2 separate regions of the Homo sapiens genome follow, and region 2 is linked to region 1. The links are contacts of gene promoters, found by promoter capture Hi-C in blood cells and fetal thymus (Javierre and others, 2016). All regions are on one chromosome and are shown on one strand. The core of a region is centred on a gene start or on the middle of the fragment in contact, and the rest is flanking DNA. Distances in the headings are between cores, read along the strand shown. Region 1 holds the start of MAPK1 (mitogen-activated protein kinase 1). Region 2 overlaps YPEL1 (yippee like 1).

Region 1 (4,494 bases), core at 1,995-4,494:
CCCCGGAGACGGAATCTCACTCTGTTGCCCAGACTGGAGTGCAGTGGCACGATCTCGGCTCACTGCAACCTCCACCTCCTGGATTCAAGCAATTCTCCTGCCTCAGCCTCCCAAGAAGCTGGAATTACAGGCACACACCACCACACCCAGCTAATTTTTGTATTTTTAGAAGAGATGGGGTTTCGCCATGTTGGCCAGGCTGGTCTAGAACTCCTGACCTCATGATCCGCCCGCCTCGGCCTCCCAAAGTGCTGGGATTACAGGCACGAGCCACCGTGCCTGCTGGCCAGCTTTTTTATAAATAACATTTTTTTCCCTAATTGGGTCTATTAGTGTCTGTTCTTTATCCCTGAAACTTAATGATTTTCCCAGATTATGTGTTGTTGGTTTCTTCTTAATTTTTCTCAATCTCAGTGAACCCACTCTATTTCCCACCTCCACCTCAGACCTTTTTGCAACCTAAGGAAACTTTTCTCCTATTGTAATTTTGATTATTCGCTCTAACCGATTTGCTCTGTCTTCCTGTGGGGATGCCTAGAGTTAGAATCCCTAGATGCTGTCCATCCCCATTATCTTCTCTTACAGGATTCCATCACTTTGTTCTATATTCTTGAAAATTTTCTCATGTTTATCTTCTATATTGCTGATGTACTCTTCTGCATCAAGTCTACTTTTTTTTTTTTTTTTTTTGAGACGGAGTCTTGCTCTGTCACCCAGGTTGGAGTGCAGTGGCGTGACCTCGGCTCACTGCAAGCTCCGCCTCCCGGGTTGACGCCATTCTCCTGTCTCAGCCTCCGGAGTAGGTGGGACTACAGGCACTCGCCACCACGCCCGGCTAATTTTTTTTTTTTTTTTTTTTGTATTTTTAGTAGAGACGAGGTTTCACCATGTTAGCCAGGATGGTCTCGATCTCCTGACCTTGTGATCCGCCCATCTCGGCCTCCCAAAGTGCTGGGATTACAAGCGTGAGCCACCGCACCCGGCCTCTTTTTTTTTTTTTTTTTTGAGACGGAGTCTCACTCTGTGGCCCAGGCTGGAGTGCAGTGGCGCGATCTCAGCTCACTGTAACCTCTGCCTCCCGAGTTCAAGCAATTCTCCTGCCTCAGCCTCCCGAGTAGCTGGGACTACAGGCACACCGGCAGGCCCAGCTAATTTTTTGTATCTTAGTAGAGACGGGGTTTCACCATGTTGCCCAGGCTGGTCCCCAGTTTCTGAGCTTGGGCAATCTGCCCTCCTCCGCCTCCCAAAGTGCTGGGATTACAGGCGTGAGCCACCGCGCCCGGCCGGTTATTGTGGTTTTAATTTCATGGTACTCCATTTATCTTGGCCTGTTTTTTAAAAAAATATGCAATGTCCTCTTTTGAGAATAAGAATTAGGTATTTTCTTTTTATTATTATTATTATACTTTAAGTTTTAGGGTACATGTGCACAATGTGCTGGTTAGTTACATATGTATACATGTGCCATGCTGGTGTGCTGCACCCATTAACTCAAGAATTAGGTATTTTCTAAAATTGGGTCCTGCTTCATGGGCTAAATATATTTTGAAGGAGTAAATTTTGGCTGGAGCAGTTTATTCCTTTTCTCATGTGTCACATCCTTTTTCCCCCACAGGATTTTTTGTTTGTTTGTTTCTCTGTTTTAGAGACAGGGTATTGCTGTGTTGCCCAGGCTAGTCTTGAATTCTTGGGCCCAAGTTGGGATTACAGGCGTGAGCCACCACACCAGCTTCCACCAGAGAGTTAAACAAACAAACAAACAAAAAACTTTGTTTATTCTCCTTTGAGATTGACTAATTAATCTTTGTTGATGTCTAGAAGTCAAGAGTTGATGGTTTTAAACTTGGAAGAGTTGAACAAAGAGGATATAGGGTCTGCCGCTCTTCCTTCTCCCTCCAAACATGGCAGGGGAAAAGGTTCAGAAGCAGTGCCTGGGTCATTGTCCGTCTCGTTGTCTTAGCTTTCCTTGGTATCCACCTGCTTCAGGACTCTAATTTTTATTTTTTCAACCTCTGTTGTTTGTGACTGTTTCTTAACCTGGTGTGTCTCTTTTTCTCTAAACCTCGATGTTTTGGTTTTAGTGACTCTATCTTTGCATTTCTATTTCATTACCTGCTCTGTCAGCATTTCTGCCTATCTGTACCAATCTCGGTCTGTCTCTGAACGCAAATGTATCTCTCATGTGTTTCGACCCACCACCCCCTAATCCCTTACTCTCTGCTTTGTCCTCCTGCCTCAGCCTCCCAAGTAGCTGGGATGACAGGCGCCCACCACTGCGCCCGGCTAATTTTTGTATTTTTAGTAGAGACAGGGTTTCGCCATGTTGGCCAGGCTGGTCTTGAACTCCTGACCTCGTGATCCGCCCGCCTCGGCCTCCCAAAGTGCTAGGATTACAGGCGTGAGCCACCTCGCCCGGACTTAATTTTTGTATTTTTAGTAGAGACCTGGTCTCAAACTCCTGACCTCAAGTGATCCGCCCGCCTCGGCCTCCCAAAGTGCTGGGATGATAGGCGTGAGACACCGCGCCCTCCCTTCTGCTTTGTACTTCTTCATCGTACTTATCACAACTTGAGCATTACACGTATTTGTCTGTCTCCTCTCTCTAAAAGGTAACTTCTATAAGGGTGGATCCCCAGGAACATGGAGTGTGCTCAACAAACATCTGAACTAACCTGATTGGCGTATCCTCTCAGTGTCTCCTTTTAGTCTCGACAATTGTGTTTCACACTTTCTCAGTATGCAAATATCTTTCTCGGTCTGGGTCATGCCTTTCGGTTTCTGCCCCAGTGCAGAGGCCTCTAAGTTTATCAGCGTGTGGACCACAGATTCGCAGAGGCCTGAGCTGCGGCGCTGCCGGGATATGGCGCGTCGTCGGGCCTCAAGCACAGCCCGGGGTCCCTCGCTGGCTCTGTTCGGACCCTGCTCGGTCGCTCGCCTGGGCCCCAGCCATCTCTCACTTCAGCCCATGAGTTCTGCCCCACGTCTGTCTCCCTGGGTGTCTTAAGAGACGCGACCCGCACCGACGCCCCCGCGAATGCACCGCGAATGCACGTGACCGCGCCTAGTGGCGCCCCCTCAGTCAACGCCGTCGCAGTGCCCCTCCCGAAGCCCGCCGCTTCCGCCGGCCCGCGCGGCCCCGCCCCCAGCCGCGAGGAACCAATCCGCATGCACACTTCTTGTCCCCGCCCCGGCACCCTCCTCGGCGCGCGCCCCTCCCTCCGCCCGCCCGCCGGCCCGCCCGTCAGTCTGGCAGGCAGGCAGGCAATCGGTCCGAGTGGCTGTCGGCTCTTCAGCTCTCCCGCTCGGCGTCTTCCTTCCTCCTCCCGGTCAGCGTCGGCGGCTGCACCGGCGGCGGCGCAGTCCCTGCGGGAGGGGCGACAAGAGCTGAGCGGCGGCCGCCGAGCGTCGAGCTCAGCGCGGCGGAGGCGGCGGCGGCCCGGCAGCCAACATGGCGGCGGCGGCGGCGGCGGGCGCGGGCCCGGAGATGGTCCGCGGGCAGGTGTTCGACGTGGGGCCGCGCTACACCAACCTCTCGTACATCGGCGAGGGCGCCTACGGCATGGTGTGGTGAGTGTCCGCGACCGGCCACGCCCGGCCCCCCCACCGCCCGGGGCCGCAGCGGACGCAGCCTCGGCCTCGCCCGCGCCTCGGCCTCAGGCGCCGCGGCGACCTCGAACCCGGACTTCACCGCGGTCCGCGCGCCAGGGCTCGGGCGCGGCCCCGGGCCGGTTGAGGTTTAGGTGTTGTTGCTCGCGGTTCCCGGGCCTTCGGTCGCTCGGGAAGGGGCTCAGGGAGTGGCGCGGGGGGCGTAGGCCGGTACTAGTGGACCCTTGGCCCCGGGCGCAGCGCGGCCTTTAAAGTCTGGACCCTCGGGAAGGCAACGGAAGGGTCCCCACCCCTCAATTTGCTAGTATCATGGCCTTCTTTTGGACTTTCGATTGTAAAACTGTGAATTCCATCAGATGCTTGTCGGTGTTGGCGGCGGTGGCTGCTGAGGTCCTGAAAGCGTTTTGCCTCCGCGTGTGTGCAGAACACCGAAATAATCGTTTTTCTCTCTTCGCCTCTGTTTGCAGCCAACGGCTTTCATTAAATATCCTCAGCGGTGCTAATGGTGGTCTCCGCGCAGGCTTTCTAAAATGGATTACTGACGCCAGTGTTGGTGGCATATTTCCGTCTTGAAGTTTTTACTTCTAAGTGGATTTTAATATCGTACTGCTGGCGTTTCAGGAAGGATAAACTAACATTACTCTCTTGATTTGTTAAAGATCCGTTTAGAGTTGGGCCTAATTTGACTTTTTTTTTAGCCCCCAAGTGAGCTCTTTTACCAGCATAAATGCTCCCAGATGTTTTAGCCCAATTGCTATGGACTCCTGTTAATGATTTAGTGGTCATTATGTATGCAGCCTTAATGGAGTTCTTGCAGAATCACACGTAGACTCCCTCATCTTGATTCAGGTCCCTTAGAAAAGTGAAATGATAGTGACGGTTTTTTTT
Region 2 (4,494 bases), core at 1,323-3,822, 150 kb after region 1:
TTGAGACCAGCCTGACCAACATGGAGAAACCCCGTCTTTACTAAAAATACAAAATTAGCTGGGTGTGGTGGCGCATGCCTGTAATCCCAGTGCTCGTGAGGCTGAGACAGGAGAATCACTTGAACCCGGGAGGTGGAGGTTGTGGTGAGCCAAGATCGTGCCATTGCACTCCAGCCTGGGCAATAAGAGCGAAACTCTGTCTCAAAAAAAAAAAAAAAAAAAGAAAAGAAAAAGAAAAATTAGGTGTGGTGGCACGTGCCAGTAGTCCCAGCTACTCAGGAGGCTGAGGCAGGAGAATCACTTGAACCCGGGAGGCGGAGGTTGCAGTGAGCGCAGATGGTGCCATCGCACTCCAGCCTGGGCGACAGAGATTCCATCTCAAAAAAATAAAAAAAATAAAAAATCTACCTTTTATGTTTTTTATTTGAACTATACATAGTAAGCAGCGTGGGGTTTTTTTGTTTGTTTGTTTGTTGTTGTTGTTTTTTCTTGAGATGGAGTCTCACTCTGTCTCCAGGCTGGAGTGCAGTGGTGCAATCTCGGCTCACTGCAGCCTCCGCCTCCCGGGTTCAAGTGATTCTCCTGCTTCAGCCTCCCGAGTAGCTGGTACTACAGGCGCACGCCACCACGCCCAGCTAATATTTGTATTTTTAATAGAGACGGGGTTTTCACCATGTTGGCCAGGATGGTCTCGAACTCCTGACCTGGCGATCTGCCCGCCTCAGCCTCCCAAAGTGCTGGGATTACAGATGTGAGCCACCACACCCAGCCTTAATAGTTTTTTTGTCTAGTTACACTTTTTCTTTTAGAGAACTTGAAACCCATTAATGCACATGTACATACATAATCCACACATATATGTATATGTATGTGTGTGTGTGTATATGGCATATCCATTTATCCACATACTATACATACATGCCTTACACTATAGTTTCCTGAAGCTTACATCACAGGCACAGTCATGTCCACATTCCAGTAATGCTTATCATTCCACGACCGATATGGCTTAATGTATGCTTTAGTTTTCAGAATATATCACTTACTCCTACGAATCAGTAAGGAAAGGACCAGCAGCTAATAGAAAATGTGACAAAGATTTGAAAAGGAGGAATCATAAAAGGTGCCCACCTGTATGGTCAGGTTGAAGCAAATTAAAGCCACAATGAGATGCTGCTGCCTTATACCTGCCAGGCAGCAGAAGTGTTAAAATTTGACCATATCAAGTTGGCGGGATAAAGATCAGCAGGGACTCATGTTCGCTGCTGGCAGGATGACCTTGTCACCGGCACTTGGGAGGTGCTGCTGTGTGCACGGGCATCTGCTCCTGGGATTGTTCCAACGAAACACCTGCCTGTGCGGCTCAGGAGAGGTGACAGCGACAGCAGCACCATTTAGTAGCCAGCCTGGGAGCCGATACACATCCACACCCCGTCAGTGGCTGCATGCAGTGTATCTGACGGGACACCAGGTGAAGGGGGCCCAGCTGCACATGGGGACAGAGGCAGACTTGGCTGCACGTCAGCAGAGAAGTCTCACAGCATCGTCGGTGTCAAGTTCAAAACACGGAACACGCAGCAGTGTGGCTCAGGGCCACACACGGGGCACAGCCATCAGGACAAGCAAAGACCAAGAAGCACCAAGTCCAAGTTAGGCAGCATCTCAGGCCGGGGCACCAAGGAAGGGCACAGCAGCGCCGTGGTGACCGGGTCCCAGTACCATCCTGGGTGGCCGCCACCGGCCGTTTGTGTCTTCCGTTCACACGATTACAAACGCTGCGTTCTGCCCACACACATCTTCAGTCCCAGATGTGAGAAGGTGACCCTCTAATGCAGGCGTGCCTGCGCAGGTGGGGGGCAGACGCCGTCCTGGGTGTCATCCCATGGAAGGGCACAGGACAGGCTGCTGCCGGAGCAGAGGTCACATGGGGTGGGGGGCGGTGGGGGGTGCATCTCAGGAGGAGCAGGTGTGAGGACACTGCTGGCGCTTGGCTCTTCTTCCCAGCCCCGTGCTCTCGAATTTGGGGAAACCCTTGCTCTTCTGTTTGGCCTGAAAGAAAATCCGGTGTGCCTGACTCTCTGCAGGCCCCTTGTCACAGGCCAGGCTGGGGTGGTGCCACCAGGAAAACTTGGCGCACGTCCTGTTGCTGATGATGGCAGCATCAGTCATGGACTTAACCTTCTTTTGTTAATGAGACCTTAGAAATGTAAAAATGATACACTCTTCTTTAAAATAATTGTAGTCAGTACACATAACTCTTACCATCTTAACCATTTCTAAGTGTACAGTTCAGTGACATTAAATATATTCACATTTTTGTACAGCCATCGCCACCCTCCAACCTCCAGAATTCTTCATGTTGCAAAACTGAAACACTGCACCCATGAAGCGGGGACTCCCCTGCCCCTGGCAGCTCTTTCTGTCTCTGAGTCCCACTACTCTAAGTACCTCATACAATATTTGTCCTTTGTGACTGGCTTACTTCACTGAGCATAGTGTCCTCAGGGTTCCTCCATGCTGTAGCTGTGACAGGAGCCCCCTCCTGTTAAAGGCTGGATAACATTCCACTGTATGCAGACGCCACATTTTGATCATGAGAATGCCCGTTTGTGGAGGGACACACTGTTGCTTCCCCCTCGTGGCTGTTGTGGATAATGTCGCTGTGAGCATGGGTGTGCAGACATGGCTTTGAGACCCTGTTTTCAGTTCTCGTGGATTTATACCCAGCAGTGGAATTGCTGGAGCCCATGGTAATTCTATATTTCGTTTTTTGAGGAATTACCATACTGTTTCCCATAGTGCCTCCAGCATTTTACATTTTTACCCTCAATGCACAAGGCTCCAATTCCTCCACATCCTCACCAACGCTTATTTTCCGTGTGTGCGCGTTGATAGTAGCCGTCCTAGAGGGTGTGTGGTGGTGTCTCAACGTGGTCCTTGTCTGCCTCCCTCAGGATCAGTGACATGGAGCACCTTTTCACGTGCTTGTGGGCCATCTGTATATCTTCTTCGGAGAAATGTTTATATAAGTCCTTTGTCCATTTTTAATCAGATTGGGGTTGTTTTGTTGAGTTGTAGGAGTTTCTTAAATATATTCTAATAACTATATAGAATATAGATATATAGGTCCTTTGTCCATTTTTTAATCAGATTGTGTTTCTTTTTGCTGAGTTTTTTTTAACATATTCTAACAACTAGAATATATAGAGAATATAGATACATAGGTCCTTTATCCATTTTCCTTTTTTTTTTTTTTTTGAGATGTAGTCTCACTCTGTCGCCCAGGCTGGAGTGCAGTGATATGGTCTCGGCTCACTGCAACCGCTGCCTCCTGGGTTCAAGCAATTCTGCTGCCTCGGCCTCCCAAGTAGCTGGGACTACAAGCACCCGCCACCACGCCCGGCTAATTTTTTGTATTTTTAGTAGAGACGGGGTTTCGCCATGTTGACTAGGGTGGTCTCGATCTCCTGACCTAGTGATCCACCTTCTTCGGCCTCCCATAATGCTGGGATTACAGGCGTGAGCCACCACGCCGGGCCCATACCCGGCCCTTTATCCATTTTTTAACCTGTTTGTTTGATTTGCTGAGTTGTAGTTGTTTTTTTTTTTTTTTTTTACATATTCCAATAACTAGGATATATAGAGAATATGGATATATAGAGAATATGTATAGAGAGAATATAGAATATATGTATTCTAGATATTAACACCTTATCAGGTATATGATTTAAAAATATTTTCCCTCATTCTCTGGGTTGCCTCTGTTGATAGTATCCTTTGAAGCACAAAAGTTTTTATTTATTTATTTAGAGACAGGGTTTCACTCTGTTGCTCAGGCTGGAGTGCAGTTGGACGATCTCAGCTCACTTGAGCCTCAACTTCCCAGGCTCAAGCCATCCTCCCACCTCAGCTATCCCAAGTAGCTGGGACCACAGGCACAGGGACCACACCCAGCTAATTTTGTGTATTTTTAGTTGAGATGAGGTATTGCTTTGTTGCCCAGGCTGGTTTTGAGTTCCTGGGCTCAAGTGGTCCACCCACCTCAGCCTCCCAAAGTGCTGGGACCACAGGCGTGAGCACTGCACCGAGCCAGAAGTTTTGAATTTTTACGAAGTCTAATGTGTCTGTTTTTCTTTTGCTGCCCATGCTTTTGGTATCGTATCCAAGAGATGATTGCCACATCCAATGTCATGAAGCTTTTCCCCTGTGTTTCCTTCTAAGAGTTTTATAGTCTTAGCTCTCACATTTAGGTCTTTTATTTTGAGTTAATTTGTATACGGTGTTAGGTAAGAGTCCAACTTTATATTTTTGCAGGTGGATATCCAGTTGTTGTGACACCATTTGTTGAAAGACTGTCCTTTCCCCATTGAATGGTCTTGACACCCTGTTGAAGATCATGTGACCATACATAAGGGTTTATTTCAGGACTGGAATTTCTTAAAGATTAAATAATACTGGATCCATCACTCACATTCCTCAATGTCCTGGTGCTCT

Evidence for each region. The method cuts DNA at HindIII sites, captures the fragments that hold promoters and counts their contacts. A CHiCAGO score of 5 or more calls a contact.
Region 2: a contact is called between a fragment that was not itself captured here and the fragment with the promoter of MAPK1 in region 1, in 3 of 17 cell types (M0 macrophages, endothelial precursors and M2 macrophages). The highest score is 6.2, in M0 macrophages.

What each region holds. Positions count from the first base shown.
Region 1 is chr22:21,866,395-21,870,888 of GRCh38, reverse strand. It overlaps MAPK1 (mitogen-activated protein kinase 1), which reads left to right and starts at 3,244. Exons shown (of 9, transcript NM_002745.5): 1 at 3,244-3,567. The coding sequence starts at 3,449. RefSeq lists a silencer at 3,074-3,313. The HindIII fragment of the contact is 41,836 bases long and covers 1-4,494 here.
Region 2 is chr22:21,711,490-21,715,983 of GRCh38, reverse strand. The region is part of intron 1 of YPEL1 (yippee like 1); the gene reads left to right. Among named protein-coding and RNA genes, the nearest start is that of YPEL1, 22 kb to the left of the region's middle. RefSeq lists a silencer at 1,957-2,115 and an enhancer at 2,324-2,373. The HindIII fragment of the contact is 3,252 bases long and covers 947-4,198 here.